Linked DNA regions of Homo sapiens: region 1 is linked to region 2. Evidence: promoter capture Hi-C in 16 types of primary human blood cells and fetal thymus (Javierre and others, 2016). All regions are on one chromosome and are shown on one strand. The core of a region is centred on a gene start or on the middle of the fragment in contact, and the rest is flanking DNA. Distances in the headings are between cores, read along the strand shown. Region 1 holds the start of INTS7 (integrator complex subunit 7). Region 2 holds the start of CENPF (centromere protein F).

The links. Contacts are between HindIII fragments. The CHiCAGO score rates a contact against its expected background, and 5 or more counts as called.
Region 1: a fragment that was not itself captured here is called in contact with the fragment with the promoter of CENPF in region 2 in 1 of 17 cell types (fetal thymus); the score reaches 9.6 in fetal thymus.

The regions. Positions count from the first base shown.
Region 1 is chr1:212,032,389-212,038,533 of GRCh38, forward strand. INTS7 (integrator complex subunit 7) reads right to left here and starts at 3,169. Exons shown (of 20, transcript NM_015434.4): 1 at 2,956-3,169. The coding sequence starts at 3,049. It overlaps DTL (denticleless E3 ubiquitin protein ligase adapter), which reads left to right and starts at 3,360. Exons shown (of 15, transcript NM_016448.4): 1 at 3,360-3,554. The coding sequence starts at 3,503. RefSeq lists enhancers at 3,020-3,229, 3,108-3,644, 3,390-3,629, 3,645-4,179. The HindIII fragment of the contact is 1,190 bases long and covers 1,894-3,083 here.
Region 2 is chr1:214,600,411-214,606,317 of GRCh38, forward strand. CENPF (centromere protein F) reads left to right here and starts at 2,785. Exons shown (of 20, transcript NM_016343.4): 1 at 2,785-2,911. It also overlaps the pseudogene ABHD17AP3. RefSeq lists a silencer at 2,679-2,888. The HindIII fragment of the contact is 1,274 bases long and covers 2,048-3,321 here.

The DNA of each region.
Region 1 (6,145 bases), core at 1,239-3,738, 2.6 Mb before region 2:
AAAATCCTCCATGGTTTCCTTTCTCACTCAGAATGAAAGCCAGTCCTTTTGATGGCTTGCACGGCCCTACCTGAACGGGACTCTGGTTATCTTTCTTTTTTTTTTTTCGAGACAGTCTTGCTCTGTTGCCCAGACTGGAGTGCAGTGGTGTGATCTCGGCTCACTGGAAGCCCCGCCTCCCAGGTTCACGCCATTCTCCTGCCTCAGCCTCCCAAGTAGCTGGAACTACAGGTGCCCACCACCACGCCTGGCTAATTTTTTGTATTTTGTTTAGTAGAGACAGGGTTTCACCATGTTAGCCAGGATGGTCTCGATCTCCTGACTTCGTGATCCGCCCGCCTCAGCTTCCCAAAGTGCGGGGATTACAGGCGTGAACCACCACGCCCGACTGACTCTGGTTATCTTTCTATACTCATTGCCTATTACTTTGCTCCAGATAACTGCATGCAAAGGAGGCTTCTACCTCAGGGCCTTTGTACTTGCTGTTCTTCCACTTGATTGAGGAGGTCTTTCTTGCCTATACTTCATAAAATAAGAAATCAACTCCAGCCCCAGATCAGTTTTCTCCAGTCCCTTTCATTGCTTCATTTTCCTTTATAATATGTATCACTAACTGTCACGTTTGCTATATTTGCGGAGTGTCTGCATCTGCTGTCTAGAATGTAAGCTCTATAGGGGCAGGAGTTTTGTCTCATTAACTGCCATGTTCCTAGTACAAAGCCCGATCAAATAAGTCATGTGTCTGAGTGTGTATGCTGAGGTGGGGGAGATATTTCAGAAACAGTATTCCTTGGAGTTTGGGAACGAAAAAAAGAGTTGGAACTTGTAGCCTTCTGACCTTTAGCTCACAAAACAGAAATACTTTAACAGGTACAAGATGAAATGACTCAATATTTAAAATACTCAACTATATTCTACACGAAACTGGCTATTTCTATAACTTAATTTCCTAACAGCTTTAAAAGTTACTACAGATGAGATGAAAAAGAACAAGTCATCTTTCTGAGCCTGAGATTCACCTGTAAAACACTCACGCCAGGCATTGCTGGGAGGAGTGCAAATGATCACTTACTCTGTGTCTAAGATTGACACCTGATTTCTTTCCTATAGATATAAAATATTTTCATTTCAACTCTTCTTTAAAAAGGAAAAATTGTGGTTTTTTTCTTACAACTGCAAAATTTGAGGAATTAAACCATTCTAGACTCCTCTTCAGTGCCCCATCTTTATCCCTGTTCCACAACCACTATCCTATTGTCAGCATGAGACAAGCTCAGCTGCACCAGAATGGTAGAAAATGTCCTTAGAACTCGTAGGGATATTAGATATTATCCTGACCTGTAACTTTCACTGAGGAATAAGAAAGAAATGTATCAGAATGAGGAGGAAAGTGTTTGAAAAACACATTTAAGGCCGGGCGCGGTGGCTCATGCCTGTAAATCCCAGCACTTTGGAAGGCCGAGGCGGACGGATCACCTGAGGTCAGGAGTTGGAGACCAGCCTGGCCAACATGGTGAAACCCCGTCTATACTAAAAATACAAAAATTAGCCGGGCGTGGTGGCGGGCGCCTGTAATTCCAGCTACTCGGGAGGCTGAGGCAGGAGAACCGTTTGAACTCGGGAGGCGGAGGTTGCAGTGAGCCGAGATGGCGCCACTGCACTCTAGCCTGGGCAACAGAGCAACACTCTGTCTCCAAAAAAAAAGAGAAAAACACATTTAGTATTATACTTTTTTTTTTCAGAGGAGAAAACCCCTAAAGATTTGGTAAGAGAAGGAAAAGTTCAACATAATTTTCTTGGTTGATGGGGGTGCACTAAAGATACTGAGACTCAACCAAAGGAATATCCCATTAGGGGGCTGTGAAATTTTTGTGTTTATCAAAATAAGGTAAAAGCTTTTTTAAGAGCCTGAGAAACTCTTATTTAGACTAACCCACTAAAAATATTCACAGTTTAAAAAATAAACAGAAAAAGAGTCCCAAAAAAGTTAATAGACATGTCCAACTCAGAAAACTGGGAAGTGGCTCAAACCCTTCTGAGTTCTAGTCCAGTTCTCCAACATTATATATTGGCTACGATTAATCAAGATTTAATTGTATACCAGCTGCCGAAATGTTTCCCGTACAATAAAAATCCTCAATATGAAATAAAGGTTTCATATTACTAGTCGAGTTCTTTACTAACAAATTTCCGACCTTGCCTCCCATATCCACATCTAAGAAGGGAGGTATATCTCTTCAGCATTTACTAAATGCTTCTTTTGCATACCATTAAGTCACTTAATACAATTCTGCCGGCTCAATGGTACTGTACCCACTTTGCAGACGACAAGCCGAGGCTAGATGAAGTTAATCATAAAATCAGCGGCATTGAAACTTAACTCAGTGTAACCCCAAAGCTCCCTCTACACCAAGCTGCTCCCTGTACGGCAACAGAACTCCTGGAACTTGTCCGCAGAGAATGAGCAGGGCCCTTGCTTTTTTATGGTCTTGGCCAGGTTTAGCCTGCCTTGTAACCCGCAGGTAACAGAGCTATGGAAATCAAATGAATCGCTGTCAAGTCGGTGCAAGATTACTATTCAGCACATTTCATGAAGACCTGGTCTCAACTGAACAGACTGAAAACCAATTTCACAATTTCTTTGCAGTGTCTCTTAGAAACTAGCCACTGTCACTGCTTAGAAAATCGGGGGACTGCTCCCTCAAGTGGTCAAAACGGGCCTCTCACTAGAGCTCGCTACTTGTTTAGCCGGTATAAGGCCAGTCACACAATCCTGCAAATTTCCCGCAACCTCCCGAAGGGGTCAAAGCCCACGCCCCAGCAAAAGCACAGGCGCTCCCCGCCCAGCGAAGACATGCGCATGCGCCTATCCGTCTTCTCCCAAAGCAACCACCACCTGGTGGCGCCACTTCCCCCCACGCCTGTTTCACCCATTCAGCCCTCTCTTTCGAATACCTTTGTCCAATTCCATAAGGGCAGAGTTGGCATCCAGTTCCTGTTCGCCATAGCCGGCATCTGCCAGGAAAGACTTAGTTGAGTTTGACGCCATGACCCGAATAGTTACTCGACTAGCCTAGTCAGAAAGCTTGCAAACTCTACCCCAGGACCGCCATCTTCCCCCGCCGCCTTCTTGCTGGTTTTTCTTCCGCGCGCTGTCAAGCCCTGTTACGCATGCGCCCTGGTCACCCCGCGGTTTGTCCGCGCCTCTGCTACCCCCTGCGCAGGCGCTCAAGGAGCTCTTGGACTCCAGGTTCCCGCGGCTGGGAGAAAAGGAGGCGGGGATCCGAAGGGGGAAATGACTCTGAGGCGCCCGGACGTCGCTCGGAAGCCAATCAGAGAGCGTGACGTCAGTTTGGCGCGGAGTTTGGCGGCCGGGGCTTACAGTGGCGGGAGTTGGAGGCGATAACGATTTGTGTTGTGAGAGGCGCAAGCTGCGATTTCTGCTGAACTTGGAGGCATTTCTACGACTTTTCTCTCAGCTGAGGCTTTTCCTCCGACCCTGATGCTCTTCAATTCGGTGCTCCGCCAGCCCCAGCTTGGCGTCCTGAGAAATGGTGAGTAACGGTCCCAACCGCTGCTCGGAGCTGGCGGAATTCATTTCCCCCGAAACACACGCCACCTCCGACCAGGGCCGACTCCAATTCTGAACTCAGCTTCTGAGTTCTCCCATGGCAAGGGTAAATTAGTGTTAGCAGGGACTACTAAAGAAAGCTGTACTTTCATCCCCTCGGGACACTTGTAATCGTAATCGGGCTTTTAAAATCGTAACGTAGGCAGGGACGTCGAAATAACTGCCTTCCAAGGCCCCTTACAGCTTACATCTCCATTGCGCGTTAACGGGAAAATGCATGCATTTGTGTGTATATGTTTCCTTCAACGGTTATTTGAGATGCTCAAAACTCCTAATCATTGATTAATTCATTCGTTTGTTGTAGAATCTTAGTGAGCCCAGCTATGTGCTATAGGTATATACCAGTGAATATGACCCGCTGTTAAGGAACTCAGTCAAGCAGAGAAGACAGGATATCTGCTTCTAACAGGAACAAAATCTTATTTTCCCCGTTTACTACACGGTCATAAAAATTTAAATTATAGAGTGAAAGATGCCTGTAACCACATCCGCCAGAGATGACCCCTGTTAATAGATTGAAGTATATTATTCCAGATGTTTTCGACGCTAGAGGTAATACCTATTATTTTCAGAAATCGGATCAAAACGTCCAGTTTTTTCACTTTAATGGTATAAGTTGAACGTATTCCCATGTTAATACGTAGAAATCTAACTTATTTTCTTACGCTAAAACATTGGCAATAAGAGATTTGAGGTTAGATTTGGATGTCATCAACTTAAACTTTTTGGTAAGTTTCAGATAAGGGAGCTAACTACCCAGATTAACCTTGGACAGAAATAAAATCTCACTCATGTGAAGGTCGACTATAGCCAGAGGTTCTTTTTCCCCTTGAAACTATGTGGAAAACGAACCTGAGAAGGGAATTTTTATATTCAGCGATGAGTCTAGGAAAATAATATTGAGAAAGAGACTGAGAAGTAGTCCCTCAACTTCCTGCTAGCAGTCTGAAACTTTATACCATCCTTATTTATTTCCCTCTTAGATAATCTTTGTAATTATACTTAAATGCTCCTCTTTCTGTCTCTCCTGGGACCTTGTTTGAGTAACTTCTTTGTCCTCTGTTTAAGAGTGACAGTACGCACAGTGGCTAAGAACTCTGTCTTTGAAGTTAAACTGCCTGGGTTTTATTATACTTCCACACCTTACTATATGTGTGTTCTGGGGGAGCTGTTCAGCCTCTATTTTGTGACAGATTTTCTCCTAATTCTCCATGTGTTTACCTTTCCCTTCCCTCTTTCCTATTCTCAAGTACTCATTCGTTGTTACATAATAGTCACTGAAATTCATTCGTTATTATATGAAATCTATAGAATCATCTCCTTTCCTCTTCAGTGTTGGTGTTCCATCCTTGACCCCTTTTCTTCTTCTACCTACTCCTTTGGATGATCACAGCCACAACCAGGGCTTCTTCCACTTCTACATACATACAACCTTCTGTTACTTATATAGTAAGTCCTCACTTAATGTCTAGATAGGCTCTTGGAAACTGTGACTTTAGGGAAAACAGTGTATAACTAAACTAACTCTACCATAGGCTACTTGATATAAATAAGAATTGTTTCAGTGGCATATTTTGGTCACACAAACACCACCGAACTTCTAAAGAAAGACTCAAAGTACTTTTAATATTAAATGTTGAAATAATTGTGTGCTATACATATATTTGAGAAAGATTAATAAAAACAGGTGAGATAATTATCCAAGTTTTGGTGTATCAGCGAGTGACCTCGGTCATAGTGGTGGTGGGCTAAATCAAGGAATAAATGTTTGCAAAGTGAAAATTGGAAGGAGCACCTCCTACCACCACCCAGGTCAAAAACAATCACAAATATGGCAGCTCACTGAGCCCTTTCATACCAAATCGTTTATTGTCATTCATTTGTATGATTATTGTAAAGTTTACCCATTTTTATTTTACAATGATTTGTATTCATTCATTTTCTGACACACTTATTCCAGCTCAGGGCTGTGGGTGCCCGGAGCCTATCCTGGCAGCTCATGGTACAAGGTGGAAACCAGCTCTAGACCAGACACTATTTCATCACAGGAAGCACTCACACACACTCATTGTCTACTGGGACCATGTAGACACACCAGTGAACCTAACATACACATCTTTGGCATGTGGGAGGAAACCAGAGTACCTGGAGAAAACCCCTATGAACATGGGAAGAGCATGTACAAACTCCACACGGCCAATGGCCTCAAACAGGAATTGATTTTTTCCTCATGAACAGTATAACGAAATGACATTGTACAAAATTATGTTATTGGAAGACTTCCTGTACCTGAGATTCATTTCTATAAAAGCTGTGTGGGTTGATTAGCACCTAGACGGTCAATCCCACAAGCATCTCAAACTCAAATACCCAAAACTGAACTCAGCTTTTCCCCCAAACCTGCAATATTACCAATTTTAGAGAGTGGCCTCATTATTTAAACCTGCCAGAAACCTGAGTAAATTAAAGACTTCTTCATCTTCCTCACAGTTACACATTCAAAACATTTCGTTA
Region 2 (5,907 bases), core at 1,535-4,034:
ATTGTGCTACTGCACTCCAGCCTGGGTGACGGAGCCAGACTCCATCTCAAGGAAAGAAAAGAAAATTTCAGAATAGATAAAAAAATAAAATCGTGTAATTATAAAATATTTACAGTTCTAATAAGATGAAAAATAATATGAAATGAAAAGTAAACTGCTGCTTAAAATAATAGATTATATTGTCTTCATGATGCAGCTATAGAGACGGCTCTCATTTATTGAAAGTACTCGTGGGGTTTTTTTGGAGAAAAATAATTGATGAAAAGTAGTATCGCAACTTATTTAATCAAATCTGAAAAGGAAATGGAATGTGAGGGGAGATATGATGATTCCTTCAGGGGATCATGAGATTGAGAAAATATTTCTCTTTAAAGGGAAATATTTGAGCAGTTTAAGTGCTACTAGGAAGACTTAGGAAGGTAGAAGCAGTTAAAGATTCTTGTTTACAAGTGCATAACTGGGAGAGTGAAGTTCCTGAGAAGCAAGTTGCCTCAAAACACAGTATGATTGTTCAGTTTTAGGAGTAGTCAGAAAGACATTTCCCATGGTTGTAACAGGAAGAAAGGAGGTAAGAATGGGTATAGATTTTCACACATTTGTAGATTTGGGTCTCAGAAAGTTGAAGGTGTTCCTGTCAGAAATCTTATGTTTTCTGTGAACTAGAAAATAAAGTCATCTTCTGAGAGTAAGAATGGAGATGGTTGTTGCAGCGGATTAGAGAAATCCTGAAACTGGGAGAAAGGGCTGTGGAGCAGCATTGAGGCCCAGCTAGACATCCTACATTTAAAGTATTTGCACAGTGCTGGGATTTTTTTCCAGCCCCATTCTGCAGCAATAGTGCACCAAGGGATGATATGGACATTTGCACACATACAAGTTTGGGAGATAGAACAAGAGGCAAGGGAGTTGAGGACACTGGCAAAAGAGTGATTTCAGTGATGAACCTGCAGTCTAATCTGTAGAAAAGATGGGAAGACTCAAAGACACTGGTCCACAAGCAGAATATCGAGGTAGTGGATGAACAATCCAGAGAGAGTAGACTGGCTAACTGAGGGAAAGGACTTAAAAAGAGAAGAGCAGAGAGCCAAAAATGGACCCTTAGAGAACATCTGTCTTTGGTTGGACGGGATCCTCCCCCTACAAAACAAACAAACCAACCGGGGGAAAAATAAAGGGAGGGGAAGGGAAGCATAAAATTAAAGTCAGAGAAATATCACAGGAGTTACTAGAATGGTATCCATCCTATTTCCCTTGTTCAAGAAATGAATGTATTTCTTTATTGTTCATTGTAGAAAAACGAAGCACAAGGCTTGACTATACAGTGGCCACTCAATAGATATCTGCTGAAGAACGAATGAATGAATAGTAAATGCAAATTTCTTATTCAAACCTTAAAAATATCCTCTATTATCTGTCTTTCTAGCTGTTTATTTTTCCTTAAACAGCCTATACATAGTTGAATAATTACTCTGGGAAGCAATGGAATTGTAATTTGTGTTGAAGCCAGACACAATTTGGTTCAAATTCTAAAACTACCAGACACTAGACTGATCATGGCAATGTCTGACAAAAGTTTTCCTCCCCTACCTGCTCTCTCCCCTCCCTTTGGGGATTCGAAGGTAGAAGATAGTAAGAACAAGGCCTTTCCCCAAATAGCAGTTTTATCTCCCAAGATGATCTGGATTTTAAATTACTATGTGCAAAGTTACTAGGGATGCAAAAATGAATTAAAACAGATTTTACTGTAAAGGAATTTTTGAGTCTGATGGGGGAGTCAGACGTAGACATAAATACAAGACAAGACACGGCGAAAATCCTAAACATGAAGTTTGCAAGTTCCAGGAAAGGTCTAGGAAATAATTATCTCTAAGGAGTGGGTGGGATTAGGGAGGTTTTATAAAAAAAGTGACACTTGAATTGGGTACTGCAGGAACAGTCTAATGAAAGGTAAAGTCAGGGGGCTGGAAAGTTTGGTACCTATTGAGGCAGACAACAGCATTAGAGATCTATTACTTTAACAATTAATTGTTTTGCTTCTGCCTTTAGAAGCTTATTTATAGTTTAATAGGGAAATAAAACGAGTATATAACATACATAGAAAACTAGTGGGCTTCACGAAAAGCATTACACCCCGTTTTGAGGATTCTTCTGAATTTTAAATTCTGATGCAGTGTCCTCCCCCCACGCCTTAATCCCGGAAAATAAGTGTTCAGAATCACGTCTTAGAAATATGAACCATAAAGGACAGCATTTAAGAGCGACATCCTGCATTGCGTAGATTCAATTTCAAATTACTGTACTTAGCTTCTATGAGCCTGTTAACTTTTTAATAAAATGAGGATAATACTTTCCTCAAAGAATTGTTAAGAACGACACCGGATAAAGAATGCATGACAAACACAGCACCTAGTATCTATGTCCTAAATTTACGTTTAATTAAGTAGATTGGTACGTGCAGTTTAAAAGAGGTTTCACCAGGCAGCACAGTTCCCCTGGCTGTAGGCGATAGACCACGCCTTCCTAATCAGCGGGCGCATTCCCTGACTTTTGCGGAAATAGCGGTCCAAAACCGCGTCTAGCATTAGCAAAAGCACGTGGTCTCCGTCTCCCCGCAACAACAAAAAAGAACAGTAAACTCCGGCGCAGGCACCTCCAGTAGAGGGCTTGTTTTTAAAATCCATCCGAAAGGGCCAATCAGACGCGGCAGTCTGAGTGCGCAGGCGCGGATTGGTCCGCAGCTACTTAGAGTGACCAATAGGCGTGGAGGTAAGTTTGGTTGAGACCAGAAGCGGGCGAATTGGGCACCGGTGGCGGCTGCGGGCAGTTTGAATTAGACTCTGGGCTCCAGCCCGCCGAAGCCGCGCCAGAACTGTACTCTCCGAGAGGTCGTTTTCCCGTCCCCGAGAGCAAGGTGAGCGTCCTGACTGGGTCCGGATCCTGGCCCTGGCGGCGGGCGGTAGGCGGCGGGCGGCGTGGGGGTGCCGCTGGCTTTTTGCCGGCGGGTACTGGGCGGGGAGGCCTCTGGGATCACTCTCCCGGCCCTGTAGGTGCCGGGGACCGCCCCCTCCCACCCGACCGAACTGGAGAATCCGCCCCGGGATGTGGTTCGTAGGGGTGTCTGCGCCCTTCTGCTCGGGTTCAAACTGGTCTCGGATTAGTGTCCCAGACCCTACTCGGTCACGGACTCACACTTTAGGGGATCATTTTCTTCCTCCGTAAAAGAATTGGAGATGACTAGGTATTTCCAAGCCGCCTTCCCAGTCCCGTAACCAACCTTATTGAAATTCAGGCCCTGGTCCTTTGTTTTATTGAGTAGATGTAAGCTTGAGTTTTGATCTGGTTGGCGACGTGGGGTGCCTATGGTTAGTTACGCGAGCATTTCTCTTTCCCCTCTCTTCTTCCTCCCGTCCACATTTTTTTTTTTCTTTTTTTAAATAGAGATAGGCCTCCCTATATTGCCTAGGCTGGTCTGGAACCCCTGGGCTCAAGGGATCCTCCCGCCTTGGCCTCTGTAAGTGCCAGGATTACAAGCATGAGCCACTACGCCCGGTCCTCCCTTCCACATTTATTTGAACGCGCCTGTGTGCCCGGCTCGGCTGTGTAATGAGGACCCAGAAATAAAAGGCATGGGTCGTGTCCTTGAGCCTGACCTAGAGGAGAAGGCAGGGTTATCATTCTCAGACCCAGCCTTGGTACAGTGCACGGGGACTCTGGCTTTTTGGAGGAGGTGGGGAATTCTGACAACGGGAAAGCAGTGGTGGAGGTGGGGCAGGAGGAGGTCACACAAGAGCTTCCTTGGGGACTAAGGGACTGGGTAGTTCGGGCATGAAGAGTGCCCTCCACGTATTTAAGAGATAAAGATACAGCATTTTCTGGAAAGGACAATAGTCCTGCAAGTCCTCCATGCAGGAACCTTCATCCAGGGCTTTTCTTCACTCCCCACCTCGATTCCCTGTTCCTCAAAAGTAAACTTCTGGGTTTATTTTTTTGTTCTTTTGCCCCAATGGCCCAATACAGGTGGCTGATAGCTGATCCCTTAATGGGCCAAAATCTGCTCTAATCACAGTTAGCTTGGTCTACATCTATATTGTTCTCTATCTTAGACTTTGGAATGGAAAAGCATTCAGCTTGCCAGTCTTCTTTATGTTTATTCCCCTCATTTTCTAATCATCTTTCTAAATTGCTCCTTTTTATATTCTGTTGGCTATAGCATCTTGATGTAATGATTTCAGTTGCTGGCTGAATTGTTTAGGGCAATTACAGTTGTGTGTCTCTGGGTACAGTTCTTTGACTCCTGACAAACTAGATTGGAATGGAGGATATTGAGACAGGGTCAGTTGTCCTTTGTTGGTTGAGAGGCATGTGACTCCTTTCAGTAGTTTTGGGATAAATGGGAGTGGAATACAAGATGCTGTGTTCCAAGAACTGAGAGCTAGAAAAAAAAACAAAACTGGTAGCAAAACACAGCTTTCCAGGGCTTTGATATCCAACTTATATGTTGTCTAAGACCTTTGCTTCTCCCTCTTAATTTTTTTTATTGTTCTTAGTACTTTCATGAACTGCTTATTGTTTTGATAAAAAGTTTCATTGATAAAATCGATTGAAAAAAACCATTAAAATGGCCGTTAACTTTATTTAGTAAAAAAACAAATTCTCAAACTCTTGCCTAAGTAACTGGAAAATGAATGATTTTTCTTTTTGTTTATGTTCTGAAGGCTAAAATAAAGGAAAGTTGCTATATTTTCTTCCAGCTGATTTCTATTTCCTAAGATGTGGCTGAGAAGGAGGTAGGCCACTTCACCCTTTGTACCATAGGCTGAAATATACAAGTGAAAAAGTGTTTTTAAAAAGTATGTAATAGCTAACATATATGGAAAGCTTACCAGGAAAGCTTACTGTTTCTAAGGCCTTAGGAAGTCACCATCATTATTATCCTCATTTTACAAACAAGGGAAACAAGGCATAGAGCAGCTAAATAACTTGCCCAAGGTCATACATCCGTAAGTGCCTGAGCTAGAAGAATCCGCTTTGTTTTTTTTTTTTTTTAAATTTTAAATCTTTAATTTCTGTTTTCACGTATTTTCTTCTTGCTTCCAAAAGGAAAGGAGTGCGTAGCTCTGTTGCCTGTACATCGTCCACAGCCCCTGGGTTGGAGCGGGGTCCCCTGGGCCGCCCGGGGGTCCACATGCAGCCCCTGGGGGGCCGGCGCGGGGTGAGGTCCGGGGGCTGCCTTATTGCTGAGGTCTGGCCGGTTGGTGCCGCCGCTAGGCGAGCTGGCTGGCAGCTCCTGGGAGATGAAGCGACGCAGGCCCTCCAGGTACTGGCTGTAGAGCTCGATGTCGTTGTGCCTGGTGCCCTCCACCCACAGCGGCTCCACCGCCTTGGGGCAGCGCTCGTAGAGCGCCAGCCCGTGCGAGAAGTCGATCACCTCGTCCTCCGTGCCGTGGATGATGAGCACGGGCGACGTGATCTTGGACACCTTCTCGATGTTAGGGAAGGCGTCGAAGCAGTAGGTCTTCTTGGTGTCGGGGAAGGCGACGCGCATGCCCGAGGTGAGCGGCGAATGCAGCACCACCGCGGCACACTCGTAGCGCGAGGCCAGGTCCACGGTGGGCACCGTGCCGATGCTCTGCCCGTACAGGATGATGCTGTCCGGGCTGATGCCGTACCTGGAGGCGCCGGAGCAGGGTCAGCCGCGGCCTCCGACGCGCGCGCACCCTTCCCGCCAGCGGGCGTCCCCGGGCCCAGCTCCGGATGCGACCCTCCAGTCTCCCCACTCAGCCAAGTCAGTGGGTCAGGCCCAGGCTCCACACCAGTCCCGAGGGCCACCCCCAGCCCTCAACACCGCGGCGGTGGGCGAAGCCAGCGGCCCCACCCCGTTCCCTGGCGCTGCCGTTCCCTGGCGTT